Linked DNA regions of Homo sapiens: region 1 is linked to region 2. The links are contacts of gene promoters, found by promoter capture Hi-C in blood cells and fetal thymus (Javierre and others, 2016). All regions are on one chromosome and are shown on one strand. The core of a region is centred on a gene start or on the middle of the fragment in contact, and the rest is flanking DNA. Distances in the headings are between cores, read along the strand shown.

The links. Contacts are between HindIII fragments. The CHiCAGO score rates a contact against its expected background, and 5 or more counts as called.
Region 1: a contact is called between a fragment that was not itself captured here and the fragment with the promoter of SASH3 in region 2, in 2 of 17 cell types (non-activated CD4 T cells and activated CD4 T cells). The highest score is 10.1, in non-activated CD4 T cells.

The regions. Positions count from the first base shown.
Region 1 is chrX:119,676,063-119,679,910 of GRCh38, reverse strand. All of the region lies in intron 1 of SEPTIN6 (septin 6), which reads left to right. Among named protein-coding and RNA genes, the nearest start is that of SEPTIN6, 15 kb to the left of the region's middle. RefSeq lists a silencer at 1,690-1,809 and an enhancer at 1,748-2,248. The HindIII fragment of the contact is 1,353 bases long and covers 1,061-2,413 here.
Region 2 is chrX:129,777,708-129,781,512 of GRCh38, reverse strand. It overlaps SASH3 (SAM and SH3 domain containing 3), which reads right to left and starts at 1,564. Exons shown (of 8, transcript NM_018990.4): 1 at 1,359-1,564. The coding sequence starts at 1,415. LOC124905215 (a long non-coding RNA gene) reads left to right here. Exons shown (of 2, transcript XR_007068328.1): 2 at 1,234-2,938. RefSeq lists enhancers at 1,214-1,273, 1,324-1,403, 1,654-1,813. The HindIII fragment of the contact is 655 bases long and covers 1,021-1,675 here.

The DNA of each region.
Region 1 (3,848 bases), core at 488-2,987, about 10 Mb after region 2:
CTTGAGGCTCATCCCTTCTTTTTTAATTAATTAATGTATTTATTTTTGAGACGGAGTCTCTCTCTGTCCCCCAGGCTGGCTGGAGTGCAGTGGCGCAATCTCGGCTCACTGCAAACTCCGCCTCCTGGGTTCAAGTGATTCTCCTGCCTCTCAGCCTCCTGAGTGGCTGGGATTACAGGCTCCCGCCACCACGCCCGGCTAATTTTTGTATTTTTAGTAGAGATGGGGTTTCACCATGTTGGCCAGGCTGGTTTTGAACTCCTGACCTCGTGATCCGCCTGCCTCAGCCTCCCAAAGTGCTGGGATTACAGGCGTGAGCCACTGCTCCCGGCAGAGGCTCATCCCTTCTTAAGACATCTCTCAAATTTGTTCCTTCTCTTTGAGTCCCAAGTCAGGTCAGTTCACACCAACCAGCATTTATTGTCACAGTGCCTGGATGTCACTCTGCTGGCTCAACATTATTGGAGTCATCTCCTCCTATGTCTTCCTGCTCCTAGTCTCTCTGTCCATCCAATCAAGCAAACACCCTGCAGCTGGAGTGATCTTTTAAAAACACTCCCTGTATCATGGCCCTCCCTGCTCAAATCACTCAAAATCCCCCAAATCCCATTGCTTAGGAAATGAAGTCCATACTTCTGCTTCTTAGGGCTTAAAAAATTATTTCTTTTGGGCCAGGCATGGTGGCTCATGCCTGTAATCCCAGCACTTTGGGAGGCCAAGGTGGGTGGATCACCTGAGGTCAGTAGTTCAAGACCAGCCTGGCCAACATGGCAAAACCCCATCTCTACTAAAATATACAAAAAATTAGCCGGGTGCGGTGGTGGGCACCCAGCTACTCGGGAGGCTGAGGCAGGAGAATCGCTTGAACCTGGGAGGCGGAAGTTGCAGTGAGCTGAGATCGCGCCACTGCACTCTAGCCTGGGAGACAGGGAGAGACTCCTTATCAAAAAAAAAGGAAAGAAAAGAAAATTTTTTCTTCTGCCGTTTAGGGCTCTTTACAGCACTGTCTTCAGTTTGAAAATTCATTTCCTCTCCTTTTGACTTTGGAGCACTTGAAGCTTCATGGTGCTGAATTTGTTGGAGGCCGGAAGAGGCAGCCAGGGGTGATAACAAATGGCTCAGGAAACCTCAACTCTGAGTCCACCTCAATTTCCGATGCCTGCTACATCGGAGGCTCCGTAAAGAAAGCATATCAGTTCTCATGTCCCTGACTCCCCTGCAGCGTTGCGGACCAAGAACTAGCAGTGGGAATCTTGCATCTTACTTTGTTTGCTTTAATAAAGAGAAGGGGAAATGAGAAGGAGAAGCAGAAAGGGGTGAACGTAGAACAAAGCCTTGAGTGATGTGAACCACTCATGAGGCTCAGCTGTCTTTATTTATTTTTTTTTTTTTGAGACGGAGTCTCGCTCTGTCGCCCAGGCTGGGTGCAGTGGCGCGATCTCGGCTCACTGCAAGCTCAGCCTCCCAGGTTCACGCCATTCTCCTGCCTCAGCCTCCTGAGTAGCTGGGACTACAGGCGCCCGCCACCACGCCCGGCTAATTTTTTGTATTTTTAGTAGAGACGGGGTTTCACCGTGTTAGCCAGGATGGTCTCCATCTCCTGACCTCGTGATCCGCCCACCTCGGCCTCCCAAAGTGCTGAGATTACAGGCATGAGCCACCGCGCCCGGCCGAGACAGTGTCTTGCTCTGTTACCCAGGCTGGAGTGCAATGGCGAGATCATGGCTCACTGCAGCCTCGACCTCCTGGGCTCAGGTGATCCTCCCACCTCAGCCTGCTGAGTAGCTGAGACCACAGGCTCACGACACCATGCCCGGCTCATTTTTGTATTTTTCTTGTTGTTGAGATGGGGTTTTGCCATTGTTGCTCAGTCTGGTCTCAAACTCCTGGGCTCAAGAGATCCGCCCACTTCGGCCTCCCCAAGTGCTGCGATTGCAGGTGCGAGCCACTGCACCCAGCCTCAGGTGTCTTCAGGGGACCCCCTGGGGCAGAGAATACACCAACTCTCACTGAATGATGGCATATGGTTGTCTGTTAAGAGTTCTCCACTGGGAGGGTGTGGGGTGAGATGTGTGAGGGTAATGAACTTGCCACATGGCATTCACCGGCACTAGCCCTGTCGCTTGCCCTCACAGGATCTAGTGACACCGATGGGAGTGAGATCTAAAGCTGTGTGAAGGGGCTATCTGGGAGCCGGTTCTGACAAAGTTGGCTGCTGAGAGGCTCCACCACCCTCACACCCCACCCCTTTCAGTGTGAAAATGTGCCCTTATTATGGACCTAGTCTAAAAGGTGGTCCAGCCCAACAGAAGAGCTGCCTGCTTAGTGCAGCCTGTGATGCTGGGCTGGGCCTCCTGGCACTAACCGTGCCCTTCTTGGACTGCTCTTGGCATCTTTCTAGTTATGGAAAGCTTGGTGCAGCCCCACCCAACAGAAACTGACTCCTTACATAGTACTCCCTTCTTGTCTAGCTCAGCTGTCTCAAGCTCCCTTCTCCCCTGTCCCCTCCCCTCCCCTGTGGCCGTTGGTTGGTATTTGGCACATTTCTTGAGTCCACGCTCCACGCAGGCCCCTTTTATGCTTCCCCCTGGCTCCTTGGAATCCTGTTCCAGTTTGAGTCTCCTCCTGTTTTGTAAAATCATTAACTATAAGCAGCTTTGGGCCTTGCAGGCGAAGCAAAGGCCCTCTGCTTTCCAGGGCTGGGAGTGGCTTGGCTGACCCTTAGGGAGTCAAGGGACCCAGAGGAAGCACGGAGGCAGCTTCTTGTAGCCATAGGGAGCCACAGTGTTCCATGCAGTACCCTTCAGGCTGGGGGTGTAAGGATAACCCCACAGTGAATAACAACAGCAGCTACTGCTGATTGAATGCTCACCACATGCTAGGCACTACGCTAAGGGCTTGAGGAGCATGATCCTGTATAATCCTCACACTCCTACTCAATAGTTTCCGATTTTATGGATGGGGAAAACTTAAGAAGTTTATGTAACTTGTCTGAGGGTGACACAGCCAGGAGATGGTGGAGATGGGGCTGTAACTAACACCTGCCAGATTTCAAAGCCTCTACTCTTAACCTCTACACTACACTGCCTTTGTAGGTCCTCAAAATGCTCTAGAGAGAGAGGAACAATTGCTTTTTTTTTAAGACAGGATCTTGCTCTCTCACCTGGGCGGGAGTGCAGTGGTGCCATCATAGCGCACTGCAGCCTCTACCTCCTGGACACAAGCAATCCTCCCGCCTCAGCCTCCCAAGTAGCTGGGACTACACAGGCACATGCCACCATGCCCAGCTAATTTTTGATTTTTTGTAGAGATGTTGTCTCACTGTGTTGCCCAGGCTGGTCTCAAACTCTTGGCCTCAAGTGATCCACCCACCTTGGCCTCCCAAAGTGTTGGGATTACAGGTGTGAGACATTTCGCCAGCCAATAATTGATTTTTTTTTTTTTTTGAGACAGAGTTTCGCTCTTATTGCCCAGGCTGTAGTGCAGTGGCGTGATCTCGGCTCACTGCAGCCTACACCTCCCGGGTTCAAGCAATTCTCCTGCCTCAGTCTCCCAAGTAGCTGGGATTATAGGCACCCACCACCATGCCTGGCTAATTTTTGTTTTTTTTGGTAGAGACAGGGTTTCGCCACGTTGGCCAGGCTGGTGTTGAACTCCTGACCTCAAGTGATCCCCCCCGCCTTGGCCTCCCAAAGTGCTGGGATTACAGGTGTGAGCCACTGAACCCGGCCCAATAATTGCTTTTTAAACCCTTTTCGTAATACTTACTGAATACTTCTGCATATACTAAGCTCGTTACATGTATTAGCGTTTCTGAGGCTCCCAGTCACCTCTAAGATATGCCATAT
Region 2 (3,805 bases), core at 315-2,814:
AGAGCAAGGGGAAGTGGCCCTGCTCTCTTAGGAGTGGCAGCCAATGGCAGTCCTGCTGGGCCTAGCACCCTGCAGGGTTTGGACGGGGATGACAGAGCCCGTGTGAAGATTCATGAACCTCCCCCCTCCCCCGCCCACCACCACTGCAACCTTAGAGAAGCAGCTGGGGTGGGGAGAATACAGCCGGAAGTGGCAGCCACCCCAGGACCTGAGAGCTGGGGCAGGATGCACACCCCACTGCCCCGAGTCTCAGTCTTTCAGCTGCCTTGGCCTCCATCTCTGAGCTACTCCCCTGACAAGGGGGATCCACCATAGGGCACCTGGGCTGAGTTCCAGGGAAAATTGGCGGGGGATAGCCTGGGCCTCTTGGACCTAGTTCAGGCCTGCTTTGGGACTGTCCTAGCATCCCATTGGATGTGTAGGATATACTTGCTGATTGTCTGGGAGAATCCTTCAATTGAATTAAAGAATTAGGTCTAGAAATCCTCAAACCCAACCAAAGAAATCTGGAAATCCTCAAATTCAACCACAAAATCCTAGATCTGGCACAGCCTTCAAGGATTCTTCCAGTCCGGTCTCTGCCCCAGGGGGATGAACACCTCAGCCATCCATGACAGCTGTTTTTCCTCCTGGCCTTTAAAATCCTCCCTCCTCAGCCTTCACTCCTACTCACCACCTCAACTTAATTTCTCATTCCCCACCCAGGAAGAACCTGTATGCCCCCTGCATCCCACTGCACTTCCGGATGCCTTTTCCCCCAAGACTGGAATGGCCTCAGGCCCCCATCTCCAGGTTGGCTCCATCTCGGGTAGGGCCTGGGAGCTACCACAGAGCTGAGCCAAGTGGGCAGGGTCTGGGCCATGGCCAAAGTGGAGGAGGGGGTGGCAGTCCTGTGAGCATCATGGCTCCAAGCTGGGCAGCCCAGCAGGGCCCTTTGAGTGAGATGGCTCCTGAGAGGCCGTGGCCGGGGCAGAAGTGGCAGCAGGACCAGCGTAGAGGAGAGATAGTTAAGTACAAGCTTAGGGTTCAGCTTAAGCATTGTATTTTGTTATTCTCAAATTCTAGTCTAAGATTCTGGCCCCTAATTTTAGATCTTTTTTCCCATTCTTCTAGGGTTGAATTGCATGACTCTAGATTTCTAAGGATCTATTCTGTAACTCTGTTGCTCCAGAATTTTAAACATCTCTTCTGTACTTCTGTTAACCTTTGGGTCCCTGTCCCGTTGCCTTCTAGGTGAGTGGCCCTCACCTACAGACTCAACATATGGCCTTTGGCTCTTCCCACTTCCAAGAGTCTTGGAAGGGATGGGTCGAGCAAGCAGAGGAAAGGAAGATGTGAGTTCCCAAAATGCTCCTCACCTTTTTCTTCTGAGTGGGCTCCTTCTCACTGGCATTGGAGGGCTTGCGGCGCAGCATGGTCCTCCACCCTGGGAGACTCCGTCCCTGCTCTCCTAGGTGTCAAGATGCAGAGGCCTCTTGCTTAGCCTCACCAGAACTGCCCGGGGGCACGGCATGAACCGAGCCTTCAGCTGCCACTCTGACTGCTGCAGTGGCAGCTTGGGGGTGCGGGCCATGGACACCCGGCAGCAGCAGCATACAGGAAGCCCTGCCACGTGACCTACTCTTACAGCAATCGCAGCCCCTGCCGGCCCCTAGGGAGGAAGGAAGTCCAAGCTTCAGTCTCCAGAGATTCTGATGCAGACGGCTCTTGGGTTGAACAGTCAGAGAAAGTCCCTACCTTGTTGTCTCATGTCGATCATCATCAGTCCTTCTGCTCCATCTTCCTAGAGGTGGACAATCAGCTCGACATTATATGGCGTACCCAAGCCCTTTATCTCACTGACCAGAATCCAGAAACCAGAAGTTGGACCATCTGGCTGCCTGTTGGATCAATGCTCCCGGTCAACTCACGTCTTCAAGGTCGTCACTGCCATCACTACCACTACCATCACCCCTGTGACCATCACCACTGCTACCATCACTCCTATCAATAGCCATCACCATACAGCCATCACCCCTACAGCCATCAGGCCTGCAGCCATCCCCGCTGCCATCAGCACACCTATAGCCATTGTCACTATGGTAATCACCTCTACAGTTGACATCCTTCAGCCATCACCTCTACAGTCATCACCATTGCTGCTATCACCCTTCCAGCCATCATCCTTACAGCTGTCACCCTTCTGGACATTACAGCCAACCGCACTCATGACCCTCTCACCCCTATAACCATCGTCCCTACAGTCATCTCTCCTACAACCATCATCACATCCGTGCAGCCATCAGCCCTGCAGCCATCACTCCTACAGCCATCAGTACACCTAAAGCCATCATCACTAGAGCAGTCACCCCTCCAGTCAGTACCCCTCAGCCATCATGAGTATATTTATCACCACCACAGCTGAAAAGCACTTACAGCCAACTCCACACCTCTAGCAAGTATCCAACAGGCATTTATCAAACACCTATGCAGTATATTCAATTTGTGGGTTGTCTGTGGCAGATTTTAATAACTTTAATAACTTCTTGGTATTACAAAAGCAACTTGTATTTGTCATACAATTTCACAAACACATAAACAAAAAAAATTTCAAAATTTCCCATCATTGTCCTCTACACTGTTTTAAGCATCTATCTACTCTCTGTCTATAAACATTTTTTTTCTTTTTACAAAAATCATACTGCTCAGAAAACAGATAATTGGTTTGGGGAGAAGGGGAGGGGAGAGAAGGGAAGGGAGACATCACACAGGGTAACAGGAAGCTTTTAGGAGTGATGAATATGTTCACTATCTTGACTGTGGTGATGATTTCATGGGGGAATACACATGTCAAAACGTATCAAATTGTATACTTCAAATATGTGCAGTTTATTGTAGCTCCATTATACCTCAATAAAGCTGTTTAAAATTTTTTAATTAAAAAAGGTCATAATTCACACTATTGGTGTCTGCTTTTCACACTAAACACAGTATCTTTTTTGTTTTTTTTTCGAGATGGAGTCTCTCACTCTGTCTCCCAGGCTGGAGTGCAGTGGCGTGATCTCGGCTCACTGCAACCTCCACCTCCTGAGTTCAAGCAATTCTTGTGCCTCTGCCTCCCAAGTAGCTGGGACTATAGGTGCGTACCACCACCCTGGTTAATTTTTGTATTTTTTGTAGAGACAGGGTTTCACCATGTTGCCCAGGCTGGTCTTGAACTCCTGGTCTCAAGTGACCTCTTTGCCTCATCCTCCCAAAGTGCTGGGATTACAGGCGTGAGCCACTACGTCCAGCTGAACACAGTATCAAGATTGTCTCATGCTATGAAATAGTCTTCAACTACGTAATTTATAACGGCTGTGGAACATCCCATTGTGTGGATGTGCCGTGCTTATTTCACCAAGCCCTTGCTGATGAACTTGGGTTGGCTTAAATTTTTAAATTATTCATTGAACATACTTATGGTAAATATTCACATCCATAGTTTTTTTTCTGTAGGGGAAATATCCAGAAGAGGAATTGCTGGGGTCAAAGGTATGCACATTTTTAAGGCTTTCAATTCTGTGGTACTTGTGAAATACTAGGCTTGTCCACCCCTGTTCCCAAGATGTTCTCGTGACTTCCTCTCCGATTCTGCTTTATGCCCTCTGACCATCCAACCTTCAGGGTGAGCTCAGGGAAGATAAGATCTTTCTTCCCTAAGCTGAAACCATACATTCTTTGGCCTACTCAGTCGGCCAGGCAGACTCATGAAAAGATTCCACACCCCAGATCTCCTTCCCACTGGCCTGTGTTTTCCACCCTGAAAGTCCCTCCCAGGCGGCCC